2 separate regions of the Homo sapiens genome follow, and region 1 is linked to region 2. The links are contacts of gene promoters, found by promoter capture Hi-C in blood cells and fetal thymus (Javierre and others, 2016). All regions are on one chromosome and are shown on one strand. Each heading gives the region's core, a stretch centred on a gene start or on the middle of the fragment in contact. The rest is flanking DNA. Distances are from core to core; before and after follow the strand shown.

Region 1 (7,251 bases), core at 3,351-5,850, 340 kb before region 2:
ATGGGTCCCCAACCCCTAGGCTGCAGACCAGTGCCAGTTTGTGGCCTGTTAGGAACCAGGCCACACAGCAGGAGGTGAGTGGCAGGAGAGCCAGCATTACCGCCACCTGAGTTCTGCCAGATCAGCAGTGGCATTTGCTTCTCATAGGAGCACAAACACTATTGTGAACTGTGTATGCGAGCTAGGTGCGAGCTCCTTAGGAAAATCTAATGCCTGATGATCTGAGGTGGAACAGTTTCATCCCCAAACCATACCTCCCCCACACCCTGGTCCATGGAAAAATTGTCTTCCACAGTCCCTGGTGCCAAAAAGGTTGGGGACTGCTGCCCTAGAGGACTTACCCAGAGAAAGTGAAACCAGTTATGAGACCTTTGTTCAGCATGCATATCCACTGTACACATAATTGAAAGCTAGAGAATCATTGAGAAGAATAATCAGCACAAATTTAATTGAAGGGATTTAAGTATTCACCTGCAAAGATGAGTCTAAGGCATCTCCCACCCTTTGCCCTTCTCTGCCTCAAGGTAAGTGAAAGAAGCCTCAAAAGCAACACTGTGTTTATCAGGGTGGAATAGGGTAGAGGAGACCTTGCCAGAGAGTATGCTGCTGTCTTCCCATGCTGGCTGGAGGTTTGCTGAGAGAGCACATACACTCATTGGCCTGGCTCTCTGAAGAAAGTGAGAATGTGGTCTTTGAAGCAACTCACCTTTCCAGAGTTTGGCAAGGCAGGGATGCTAACATATCTGTGACCCAGCTGACATCATGGAAAGTCAGCAAGCTCAAATCATCTTGAAAGCTTACTGTTCAAGAAGATGCCTACCTGAAAAGATGCACCCATTGAAAAGGATGACTCTAATAGCCAAGACATGGAGTCAACCTAGATGCCTATCAGTGGTGGACTGGATAAAGAAAATGTGGTACATATACCTCGTGGAATACTATGCAATCGTAACAAAGAATGAAATATATCCTTTGCAGCAACCTGGATGCAGCTGGAGACCATTATCCTCAGTGATTTAATGCATGAACAGAAAACCAAATACCACATGTTCTCGCTTAGCTCCCAAGTGGGAGCTAAACACTGGGTACTCATCATCATAAAGATGTCAGCAATAGAAGCTAGGGACTACTAGAGGGGGAAGGAAGGGAGGGGGCGAGGGTTGAAAAACCAATGATTGGGTACTATGCTCAGTACCTGAGTGATGGGTTCAGTCATACTCCAAAACCTCAGCATCACACAATAAACCCAAGTAACAAACTTGCATGTGTACTCCCTAAACTTGAAATAAATGCTGAATTTTTTTTTTTTTTTAAAGAGTGAATCTAGGTTTTGTGGGCCTGAAGTACATATGATTCTTCAACACATAAAAAATTTTCTGATACTTTTACATCACAAAAGCAAATACTGCTTTAGAATGAAAAAAGATAACAAAATACAAATTTTTAAAAGCTGACAAATGCCAGAAACACCCAAATCCCCACAATAATGTAACATTTTTAATAATTAATTGTCTGACACTTCTTCGTAATAGTTTTACCCCTAATTTTTGGCTTCATATTTTTGATACCTGCTTCATGTGACAATGATAGTAGAGAAAATTTTAAGATCATTTAGTCTTTGATTGGGTATGGTTGAATCAATTTTTTTTGGTTTCTCATAGTTTAGAAAGTTTCTTTTTTCTTTAAATCTTATTTTGGTGATGCCATATAAACTTTCTGGATTGTTATCAAATTTAGGAAACTCTGACCAGTTTTTATCAGGTCTGATTTGTAATATTTGAAAGAATTTTTCACAGACTAGCTCTGAGCCTCATAGGTTTTAGACCTTATTTCTTCTTCATTACCCACATACTTCTGAGGCCAGATGCCGTAGGACACTTTATGTCAATAAAACCTTTGTCCTAGGCCAGGCACAGTGGCTCATGCCTGTAATTGCAGATCACGTGAGCCCAGGAGTTCAAGACCAGCCTGGGCAACATGCTGACACCCCATCTCTACAAAAATACAAAAAAAATTAGCCAGGCAGGGTGACACATGCCTGTAGTCCCAGCTAATCAGAGACTGAGGCGGGAGGATCACCTGAACCCAGGGAGGTCGAGGACGCATGAGTCATGATTGCACCACTGCACTCTAGCCTGGGTGACAGAGTCAGATTACATCTCAAAAAAAATACAGAAGCAAAAGCAAAAAATACAAATAAAAACCTTTATCCCCTATACCTTTTTATGACAGTGAGTGATAGGAATATTTCTGGAATCCATAGCAAAATCTTGTGACTTTGGAACCACACAAATGTATCCCACCAAATCCTAATTTAATGGATCCTCAAATCACCTTCCCAAAATTCCCCATCACACTCTAAGTTCACCAAACATAAGGAGAATTATTTCAAAGGAAAAATTGGAAAGGAAAGAGACTTCAGACTTAACTGTGTTAAAATAGCTTATCCTTATAAATTTTACAAAAGCATATGACTGCACAGACACACTGGTAGGGGCCTTCCTAGGACCTTGGTAGGAGCCTGTGCAGGTGAGGGGCCCTGAAGCTGAAGCGTCATTAGCTTCAGGGTAAATCCACTTCTGTGTGTGCGTTATATAATTGGCACGGACTGAGGAGGAGCCCAAAGGTGTCAGCTGGAGAATGCATAACATACCTAAGGAAATTGCCAATTTCCCAGGTCAGAGGCCTCCAAAGGCCATGAAGAGCATTTGAATGTCTGCTACAACAAAAGGTGTTAACCATCAAGAAAACAAACACCACCAGCCAACTGAAAAGGCACTTCTCCTCTCTGTTGCTCCTTTACCCATATTTCCTTCAAAATCTGAAGTAACAGGCATAGTGAAAAGGAGAAGGGAGTGCGGGAGACGGGAGAAAAATTAAAACAACTTGTAGAGCAGAGATTAGGGTGAAGCGAGTGAGGCATCTGGGGAGCAAAATTTAAGGGGGCGGGGGACTCATCCTAGTACCGGCTCAGAGACCATGCCACTCCCCACTCCTCCTTCTGTAGCCAGGTCAGGTTTTGGCTGTGGTGAAGGGAAGATGTCCTTAGTTGAATGAGAATTTGGAATTTTGACCCATAGCACGTTGGTCTTTCTAAAGAGTTTTATTTATACTGAAAGTGACAAAAAGCTATGAAATTTTCTCAGCTTATGGAGCAATTTAGAGGACATATTTGGAATGAAACCACTCCTGATTGTACCCTAAAGAGCACCTCCTTTTCAATCACTATATTTAAAGAAGGAAACAGTGGCATTTGTTATATATACAGGATGAAGGCCCAACTCCTTAGCTTGGTACACAAGAGCTGCCACTGTCTTACCCTCCACCATCATCTCTGCTGAAGCCACAGTTGTCACCATTATAAGGCAACTCAGCAGGCCAGGCTATCGCTCTCTCTGATGCTTCCTCTGCTTAGAGTCTTCCCTTCCTCTACTATCTCCTTTAAAGGCCAACTCCTTGGGGAACCTACTTCATAACCTCAAATTAGTAGTTCAATCCTCTGAGCCTCATTGTATTCTTTTTGGCCCTTCTGAGGGCACTTAAGATATTGCAGTATATTTTGGTTCTAGTTCTGACTTCCCACCAGGCTGTAATATCTTTCTAGATAAACAGCATGACCTAATCAGTTTTATTACAGCGTTTTGAATGCAGATCGTGGCACATATGGTTTGTTTCAATAACATTAGTTATGTGAATGAATGTCCTCCTTTTCTTTTCCCATATAGAAGAACTTCACAATAAGAGTGCTGCCTATAACAGGAGGCTCCCTTTGTTTAGTGAATGTGTTAACCAACTTACTATTACTTCTTTATGGATGCCTGAGTCATCTATCCCCAAGGATGTCTTGAAGGTAAAATCTGAAACAAACTCCCTTATTTGTGATTATTAAATTAGTAAGTCATTTCAGTTTAGAAATTTTCTCAATTAGGCACAGATAACAACCAATCCTCGCAGGCAAAATGCTACATACTTAAATATCTTTATTAAAAATTCTGGTGATTTCATGAGGGAAAAAATGCCCTTAGATCCAAAGATTTTGGGCTTCCAACAATTAATAACTAAACTATTAGATAAACACAACTTTCCCCAGGTAAATGTCTCTGAATATGTTCTTCCTCTCCTTCCTTCTGAAATGCAGCCAACTGCTCTGAAGTACTAGGTCTCCATTTTAACTGACTAACAACTCAATTTTGTTTCAATCAAAGTATCACAATTGGGCAAATTCAGAGAGCACACTCTAAAATTTGCTTGAGGTGGAGTTGTAAATTCTTAGAGATAACTCAACTTGCTGTACTGGTTCCATTAATTCCATCCCTCAACGTCTCCTTTCTCTCTTTAATACCAGAAATGTGAGCTCATACTGAATGTCAGAAAACCTCTGCCTTAAGTTTCTGCATGAATTTATCTATAAACCAGGTAGACTTGTTGTTCCTTATATAAATTTGTCTTAAAAACAGGGAAGTGTTCATGGGACACCCATATTGTATTTAATAATAGCATATCAGATCAGAATAGAATTATACTACTTCTTTTTCAGAGTTACAGAATCAGATCTGGGGAGTCATAACAGCCTGCCAGAACCTTGATTTTGAGCAGTGTCAGTTGTCAGTATTACAAAACACAAATTACACAGCAATTAAATGTGGTAAGGCTTCAATCAGAGTCTTTCATGAATATAACAGGGATAAAAATCTCCACATACAGTCATTCTCTGAAGCATTGAAAACTTATCTAAATACCCCCTTTCCCTTTTGATAGCATTTTATGTATACCTTTATTTGAAACACTTATCATATGATACTATAACAAATCTTTTTGTTCTGCTACCCTCTCTTGACTGTGACCTACTTAAGGTTAAAAACTATATCTGACTTTGTGTCCCCAACACTCAACATTAGTGCTAGACATAATAAGTACTCAATGAATCTGTTGAATTCATGATAAAAGAATAAATGAATGTGATGAGTATCAAAGTAAATATCTGTCTAGGCAATTCTTGAAGTCTGCTTTTCCCTAATCTTCACCGTTAAGCACGTGATTCGATACCTGCAAGTTTCCTTAAGGTCTTTGGCATTTCTCAACGTTCCAGCTTAAAGTGCCCCAGTTAGAGTGATTCATTATGCTTTGCAACTAAAGTGGGAAATCAGGAAGAGCTATACCAGGATTCACTGGGATTGGGTGCACTACATCTGGTGTTCCCTAAGATAAAAGTGGGCACTTAATGGGACTAATTCATGCTCATGTCAATGACTCAGGACTAATTATCTTCTAAGGTCATTGTAGCAGGGAAGTATGCTATCAGGAGGAACGAATCAATGTGTCATAGAAAGGGTGGGATCTGAAAGAGAGAAATCAGGTGAGGTCCACCTTAAGAAATAAGAGATAAGAACAAAAATTCAAGAGGACTTCAAGGGATCCAGGTCTACAAAAAACTGCAAGTCTAAGGGTCATGGCAATTCTGTAAGATTTCTTAAACCTCTACAACTTGCTGATATGTGTAATTTTTGTGAGTTTATGTCTTACTGCAATGGCAAGGAAGTCAGTCACCAAAAGGAAAAACAAAACTCTGCGGACAAAAGAGCGCTCAGGAGGCCTCACCTCATCATCCAGGCCCTCCTGCTGCTCTGTTTAGCCAGGACCTATCCCTCAGTCAGCCTGCTTTTGCTCCCCCTGGGGGTGGGCTCCTGCCCTCCTGCTTTTATCCAGCTCTGTGGACCAAAGCACCTCCATCTTGTCTTTTCCTTTCTTCATCCCTTGATCCACTGAACAGCAGACTGGTTCCTACGCAGTGCTTTCATATACATGCACTCTATCTTAGATCTCTTTCTGTGTGGGGAGAGAGTTACAAACCACTCCTTTTACCTCGTGACTGAGGTGCATATATAATTTATCATCCAAATTTGAGAGTGAAAGGGGATGCTGTTCTTAATCATACCAGGATAATAGGAATAAACTACACCTCTGCTAGGCAAACCCAGAAGAATTTGTAAGATTAAAACAGAATTTAAGCAAAGGCTGACGGATTGAAGGGACATGCAATCAAGAGAAAAACAAGATATTAAAGTGAAAGAAATCCTCATTTTCTTTTCCTCCTAAGATCTGTGATATCGTAGTATAACTAATCTCACCTAAGAAACCATTTCCTTTTGGGTCCCCATATATATGGCAATATTAGCATTAAAATAGCTACAGCAACATTATTCATAACAATAAGTTCTTCTTCCATTAGGGATAGTTCCTAGAGGAGTCCCTTCCCCAGACAACTTCTCCCATCGTTCTCTAACAGAGCTCTGGGGAAAGGGACCATGCTGGTCTCCCTTCCATTTAGTTATCTCTAACAGCCTCCTTAAGGTGTCTTCTCAGCCCATGGCCCAGGCACTTCTCTGATAACAGGTCCTGCTGTGCCAGGCTTCCCTTTACATTCACTTCTGCAAGTAGCCTTGCTTAGACTAAAACTTAGGACTATGTAAACCAAATTGTGGTTTACCCATTTGCTGTTAAATATAAACCCACTATTCAAGAACTAGTCAGAGCTTGCTGTAAAAAATAACATTAAGTCCGAACTAGAGAACGGCTTCTTATATATATTTTGAATGTTTATATCCTATTTTGTTAGCCTGAGGCATTTACTCTTTTTCAAAGTACAGTTTACATGTTCCCACTTCTGAAAAATGTTTGACGCAGCTCACACTAAAATATGAACATATATTCACAAGATAACTTAAACTTCAGAAATATCACGAAGTACAGGGAGTAAAAGAATTCCACCTGAATTTTTAAAAACAAACAATAAAATAATAAAATAAAATTTAAGAAGTAGAAATTCAGGAATAATGCAAAAAAGAATATCATAATGTCAACAAAAAGAATTTACTCTTTAGTTTCTAGTTACTGAGAAGCAATAGGAAACTCTGTCTGTGATTAATTGTTATTAAAGTCACATTTGAAAGAAACATGAAACACTCCTTTAATTTACTTCATTCCCCCAAGTACAAAAATTGTGCTCTCTCCTAATCTTTCACTCCTCTTAATTTGGGTCATGGTATTGTACAGCACAGGAGAGAGGTGATTTTCCAGGACACTCAGATAAAGCAATAGAAGATCATATTTTGGAAAATAAGAGACCAGTCACTCTGAAATCTGTCTTACAGTCACTGTCTCAAGAGTAGGGTAATTATTAGGAACACTGAAATGGATCCTTGGAGAGGTAGTGCCTTGAGAGGCAGGAAATGAGAGGGCACAGGAAACATG
Region 2 (7,082 bases), core at 934-3,433:
TATTAGAGAAAGTCATGAAAAATAGCAAGTATATATTTTATGCTCAGTAGCTTGCATGTCCTAACTCCTTTACAAGCTTGTAGTACTATTTTTAATCTGGAACAACTCTGCTGATAGTTATTTTTACTAAATGGTTTGCACTAACTCATTTTATTGTCTGATCCTTCTGCTGATAGCCTGCATATACCATGATCCACAATTTGTTCTTGTTCTTTTAAACATCTCTTCTAACTTCTTGGCTGAAATTTGCCTCACTTTTATCATAAGACTTTCTTTGGCTATAACATTTGGGCCCTGCGCTTGGAATAATCTTGAATCTGAACAGTTTGGCAGCATGCTGTTAGTGGCATGAGCAGGAAATGGCTTCCAAGGGCAGAACCAGGTACATTTCAGATATATTTCACCCTTTTTTGGTGCATTTGCGTAGCCACAATCTCTGTTAATTCTTGCTTGAAGGTAGATGATTCTGAAATGGGGTAGATAGAGGTGCGAGAGGAAGAGAAAATCCATGTCAGCTAGGTGGTGAATTAATATAGATGAAGGGCCGTGCTAGAAAAGTAAATAATCTAGGTAGTCTGGCTGCAAAGTAACTTTTAAAAAGATAAAAGATATTAAAGTATTATGTATTATTGGAATAGCTAGTTAAATTAACTCACAGAATGTAGTCTTCTAACTAGGAAAATCTAATGTAAAATTGTTCCATATTATGACTCTGGACATTTTATTTCAGGCACATGAAAAACAGTAAAAGACAGATTCTGTACCATACTTTTCCACAGCATTTTCCATGCCTTTAGATGTAGGAATCAAACAATATACATCAGGAATGAAGAGTGTGCTACATTAGAATCACAGACTCTCAAAGGTTAAATGAAAGCTTAATGGTCGTCTAATTCAACCATCCATCCAATTTCACTATGGATCTTCACTCTTAAAGTAATGAAATACTATTCCACAAGCATCAATTCAAACAAACCAAGCTGAGAAGGAAATGGGCCAGAAATGTCAACCTTTTTCCCCCCGAGCAGGAGGGGGAAAATGCAAGAGTATTGACTCTAGGGAGCATGTATAAGCTCTTTTAATGTGCTGAATTTTCATAGGATAAGCAACCTTGGCAGCAAAACAGTTAAGTCATTGAAATGTTACCATTTTGCAACATTCTCTGCTCCCTATCCTCTAGCCATTGTCTTGGTGAAGTCCACAGGTGGTATATATAGCAAAGCTCTTTCAAAATGGCCACAGAAAAGAGCAAGAGAGAATAGAAGAAGACGGAGAGGGAATCTTATTCCTTTAAAAATGTCTTAAAGACTTTCTAAGGAGACTCTTGGTCACCCTGAGGATGGTTGGCATTACCTCTCCTTAGAGAGGTGAGTGTCCCTGATGTTCCGAGGCTACCAGTCCAACTGAGGACAGGCTTACAGGACAGCACAACAATCCTTAAAAAGAAGTTGGAGGAGGAGAAGGAGAAAGAGATTTCGGAGGGAAAAGGAATTTTAATTCCAAAAATATACCTTATTTCCTCCTGAATAGAGCTGTAAATTTGTAAAAGTAATACAAACATCTTCTGATTTCCACTCGGACAATCTCCCAGGCACAGTCACTGTATTTCTTTTCTTTCAGGAAATTGTCTATCCTGTGGAAATATCTCCTCAGTTCCAGGCTGCTCAGCTGGGGGACCCTGGCTTCTGAGGGTTTCATCTCATTCTCTTTCATTTCTTTCATGTCTTCATTTTCATTCTTGTCTTCCTCCAAGCATTGGTTCAGGTACTCTGCTTGCTGATCAAGTCCTATTTGGATTTGTTTGAGGTGTCTCTCTTTCCAATATTTGAAGGTGTGTTGGCTGAAGATGTTGAAGGCCTGTAGGGACATTTCATAGAAGGCCTTCTTGATGTCCCTCTTCATAGGTTGGGTGTATTGCAGAAACTCTTGGGGCAACTCAAAAGCTATGTTTTCTCGTAGACATTCTACAGGAAATGAATTGCTCATACTACTCAGATGTCTCAGATTTTGCCAGGTGACTCTTCTCAGGTGAACGTTCAGTAAGTTACAGTCCAGGGATAGGGTGCCAGCAATGAATATACCCATAAGGATCTCAAGCCACAAACACTTTTGAATCATATCAGGTTTGGTGCTCATTTTTTTTGCAAGCTAAAAAATCCAGAAGATGTGTATATGACAATGATGTTTTGAGTTTTCCTTCATGTGCCTTTATATACCTGAATATCTTCAGCAGGAGGAGTTTTCTCATTCGTCATTTCACAGTTAACCAAGGTTGCGGCCCCTTTCCTTTGCCTCTGAGGCTTTTTTTTTTTTTTTTTTTTTACTTCGGGTGACTATGCCGACTTTGGAAGTGATAACTTTTTTTTTTCCCTGAAAAATGAGCAAAGAATTACCATCGTGTTACCTTAAATGCCTGGATGATCCATCCCAGCACTAAGGAATCATCATAACAAGACTGATGCAGGGTATTTCAGAAAGCCAAAAGCTGTGAGTCCATGCACTCACTCACTCACTCACTCACCCAAATCTATTACATAAGAGGGAGTGATCCTTCATGAAAATATATTTTTTGTACCTGGTGCTATAGCCAAACATCCTGTCTCATTGAGTTAATCATAGACATTGACCAAATGACTGTGATTATTTGATTGCTAGGTCACCAGAGCACAGTATAGTTTAGGTTTTTCCAATTTTGTTAAATTAAGCTTCTATATTTGGATATTTTCTCTTTTTGATTTTTCTGGATCTCCAAAAAGATGAAGAATAGAGCTGGCACTTACTAAGTAGGAGACTAAGTTGGCTTGGTTTTCTGTTGCATTAGAAAATGTTGATAATCTCTAAATATCCTTTTCTTCAGTTAAATCCATCCTGGACTTAGCCTTCCATATGCCTCTGATACCTTTCTTAAAAGTCCTGGAGGGGGTTTTATATTTGAGAATATCTTTCTGCCTCATTAACTTCTCTCTTGTAGTATCATTTTCTTTTCTTTTCTTTTCTTTTTTTTTTTTGGTGCAGTTTAGGCAGTATTTTTAAACTTTTGCTTGATTGCTTGATTATTATATCTTCTTGCCTGGTGGTTCTGGATTCTGTAAAGGCTTTTGTTTGCTCCTGTGTTTGTTGTGCACTGAGGAGGTATGTGAGTAGGAAGTCACCCATTTAGCTAAGTGAATTCCTAGCTGGACCAATGTTACTGTGGTAATGATGGCTATCTATTGTTTATGGTTTTTACTTTGTTTGACCAAATAACCTTCCTCTGATTATGGTTAAAGCAAATGGATTCTTTTCTCCAGGAAAATAAAATGGATTGTCATTTTAAAAAGGTAGCTTATTATATCTTCTCAAGAAAAAAAAGATATACATTAATTTGCAATTAAGTCATTGTAAAATGGTAAATAGCCACAGTTCCACAAACATGGCAGACTTTGATTGAAAAGTTGGCTTAAAAAGTTCTTGTCTAAATCAGTTGACTGCACCAAAGGCTAATTGTGGGTAAGTGGGATTTCTTAAAATCCTGGCTTTTAGGAAAGGTTTCTTACGGAAAAAAATATATATATATATATTATTCTATTTGTTCCATCTACATAAATTCTTATTTCATGGGCAGATTTCTTGGGCTGACCAAATTTGGAAAACATTAAGAAAACAAGCCCTTTTATATAGCGTTATAAATTGACACAACCTTCCTAGAGAGGAAAGTGGTGATATGGATCAAAAGCCTTAAAAATGTACATAATATTTGACTCAGCGATTGATCCTCTAGGAACTGATTCCCCAGAAATAATGATGATGCCCTTAAAGACTTAGCTGTAAGGAAGTTTGTCACAGCAAAAAATGGAAAACAATTTTAATGTTCAGCAATAAATACTTAGTTAAGTAAGCCATCAGTAGAAAACATATATGTAAGCACTAAAAATTATGTGTGGGAATATATTTGGTCACTTGGATAGATACACTTTGTAGTTTAAAAAACAAGCTTATATTTGCATATAGAGGCTGATACCACTTTTGTTAAATATAGACATATGCATATATATATATATATATATATATATGAAAAAATGTCTTGATATATATGCAAAAATTTTGAGTCACTATCTCTAACTGGAAGAATAATGGGTGGTTTTTATTTTTATATTTTTATTTACCTGGATTTTTTAAGTTTTCTGTGGTGAGCAAGTATTTCTTTTTCTTTCTTTCTTTCTTTTCTTTTTTTTTTTTTTTTTTTTTTTTGTGAGACGGGGTCTTGCTCTGTCTCCAGGCTGGAGTGCAGTGGCGCGATCTCGGCTCACTGCAACCTCCGCCTCCCGGGTTCAAGCGATTCTCCTGCCTCAGCCTCACAAGTAGCTGGGATTACAGGCACGCGTCACCATGTCTCGTTAATTTTTTTGTATTTTAGTAGAGACAGGGTTTCACCATGTTGGCGACGACGGTCTCGATCTCCTGACCTCATGATCCGACCGCCTCGGCCTCCCAAAGTGCTGGGATTACAGGCGTGAGCCACTGTACCTGGCCAAGTATTTCTTATTTAATAAGAGAAGGCTGTTTTTAAAAGAAGATACATTAAAAAAGGAAAAATTATTATACATCTGAAATGGGATCAATACTATTTTATTTGTTTAAACATTTCTACTCTAGAGTATTTTGAAAGAAAATGTGGATTCTCCCTAAGGCTCAGTTCCAATCAGTTGATATGAATAACACACAGTATGTGGGAATATACTATTCTTGCAGCCATGTTTATACATGTATATATACTTATAATTACACACACACACACACACACATTCTATAAAGTGCAAAGCCTCTCTGAGGGCCATGGCTTTTTACATACCTCATATAACTTCTCTACCTAAAACTTCTTGAACTGTTCCAATTAGAACTGCTTGTTCCCCATTTTGCTTTTACGATGCCTTGGCCTCCTTAACCATGGGTTTTAAAAAACAGATAATTGTATAAGTGTTGGTCTCCCAATTTAGTGCATTCCCCTCTTCCCTGAAATTGCCCGTGGTGCTTAGTATACTTTTCACTAGTTTGAGACAGTTCAATGATACTAACCAAGCTAAAAGATTGTTCAGTTCTGCTCATAGGTGTTGGAGATGGCTGCACATTTGGCTATTGTCATTCGTCTTGAAGTTGCCTGTATTTTCAGCCATGCACAGTTTTGTCATCTTTAGCCCTCTCACCCCAAATTTCCTCCCTTTACTATAATTCCATATTATATTCTCATTTATCTAAAAATGTACTTTTGTGTTTATGACATTTCCGTCACTGGCCTAGGTCCTGAAGAAGGAGGAATAAGTTGTAGTGCATGATCTCGAGGAGGCTGTGGTTGAAGAAGCAGGCATGTTCTGAGTGTTTTAGGCAGGAGGAGTAATTCTTAGGGTTCCCCAAGAGCAAGGACTCCATTCCCCATGTTCTGTAAACGTTAATAGATGCTGATATTGACAATATTCATGACAAAGAAGGAAAGATGGTTGGCATACACATCTGTCCTTCTCCCACCATTAGGATTGCCTGTCTTAGCAGATAAAAATATAGAACACTCATGCAATATTTGGGACATACCTACTAAAAAGTCATTCATTGTTTTTCTGAAATTCAGATTTAACTGGGTGTCTTTATTTTATCTGACAACCCTATCCACCATGCAAGCTCCCACTGACCTCTCACAGCAGAGCTCAGACGTGACATCCCCTGCAGAGAGCCATTCCTCTGCTACTCTTCCTCCTCCTGCAGAGTTACATTTGATTGCATTTCTCTATGCTGGCTTTACATGTGCACATACCCGTAACAAGTGTACATGGCAAAGAGGTCACCTGTCATACTAAAACAAAATAATACTGACACACACAAACATACACACACTTGTACACTCACATATAATCACTCTGATTAGAAGCATTATTGAATGATCAGTCACTGGTCATACCTCTGTTCTGTAAAGCCAGAGGTATTGAATGTATCTCAAAAATATAATCAGAAAATTGAAAACAATGACAGTGTAAGGAAACATTTTGACTCCTAAATTCGTCTGGCATAACTGCTGAGTTTGTCATCAGTAGGCTATGCACTGACATGCTAACATGGTTTCCATGATATCTGTTCTTATTTCCCTGGCATGGCTTGAGATCGTTTATACATGTTCAGGCTTTCCTCAGAGGGAGGGCTGGTTAGCAGGGGCTGCTCTGTTGTTTATGGAATTGTGTGGTGTCTATGTGGATTATGAGATTAACTGTAATGGACAAGGCAGAATTTGGCAAAATGGAGATGAGACATTTCAGTCTAGACGATATAGCTGTGATTCAGCTGAGGGGCATTTGGCATCTACTGATAAGATTTATTGCTCTCCATGAAAAGACAAGTTTCGAATCAGGACGAGAGTAACACATTGATCATCCATATTACTCAATTCTTGAAAGTACATTGTTCCATTTGTAGGGTCATTAGGCGATTGAGCCCAGTAGAGAGCCCAGGAAAAGGAAGCCTTGTGTCCAGGCCTAGCGGTACTTCCCATGGGGCATGCAGAGGATGGTCATCACAAGGTTGTGTGCAGCTATTTTATCCTCAGACAAACGCAGTCACCTCTGGCAACTAGATGTTTCACTCATTCTCACTGCCTCAGCATTGGGGTCAGCCTCATTTGGGGCCAGCTTGTCTTCTGGTCCCTTTCTTGGCTCTTCTCTTAATGATGACCCTGATAGAGAAACTGATAATGACTATTCAGGGAATACTGTGGATATGTGCATATGGTAAAAATTCAAACACTTCAGGGCAAGCGAAAGCTTTGCTTAACAGCTCAGCCTCATGTCATGCTCCTCTCCTCCCCTGCGGCAACTACAGTTATCAGTTTGGTATGTGTCCTGTTTGATACCTTTCTCTCTACTAAGCAATAAGTTCTGTGAGGGAAGGTATAACAACTGGCTTGTTTGCTTTCTCTTAAATGCTCATAGGGAATAGGAGAGACCTGGATCATATCCATGGGTGGCAGTAGGAGGACTTGGGTGTATATTTTTAAAATTGGCAATACAGGATTATAAAAATTGTGATATGCTTTGAGGTTGAATCCTAGAAGTTTATCTGTG

Evidence for each region. Contacts are between HindIII fragments. The CHiCAGO score rates a contact against its expected background, and 5 or more counts as called.
Region 1: a fragment that was not itself captured here is called in contact with the fragment with the promoter of IFNK in region 2 in 1 of 17 cell types (neutrophils); the score reaches 6.8 in neutrophils.

Annotation. Positions count from the first base shown.
Region 1 is chr9:27,865,369-27,872,619 of GRCh38, reverse strand. No RefSeq gene overlaps it. Among named protein-coding and RNA genes, the nearest start is that of C9orf72, 300 kb to the right of the region's middle. The HindIII fragment of the contact is 7,603 bases long and covers 799-7,251 here.
Region 2 is chr9:27,519,391-27,526,472 of GRCh38, reverse strand. It overlaps IFNK (interferon kappa), which reads right to left and starts at 2,183. Exons shown (of 2, transcript NM_020124.3): 1 at 1,512-2,183; 2 at 1-466. The coding sequence starts at 2,136. The coding sequence ends at 1,513. All of the region lies in intron 1 of MOB3B (MOB kinase activator 3B), which reads left to right. The HindIII fragment of the contact is 1,828 bases long and covers 880-2,707 here.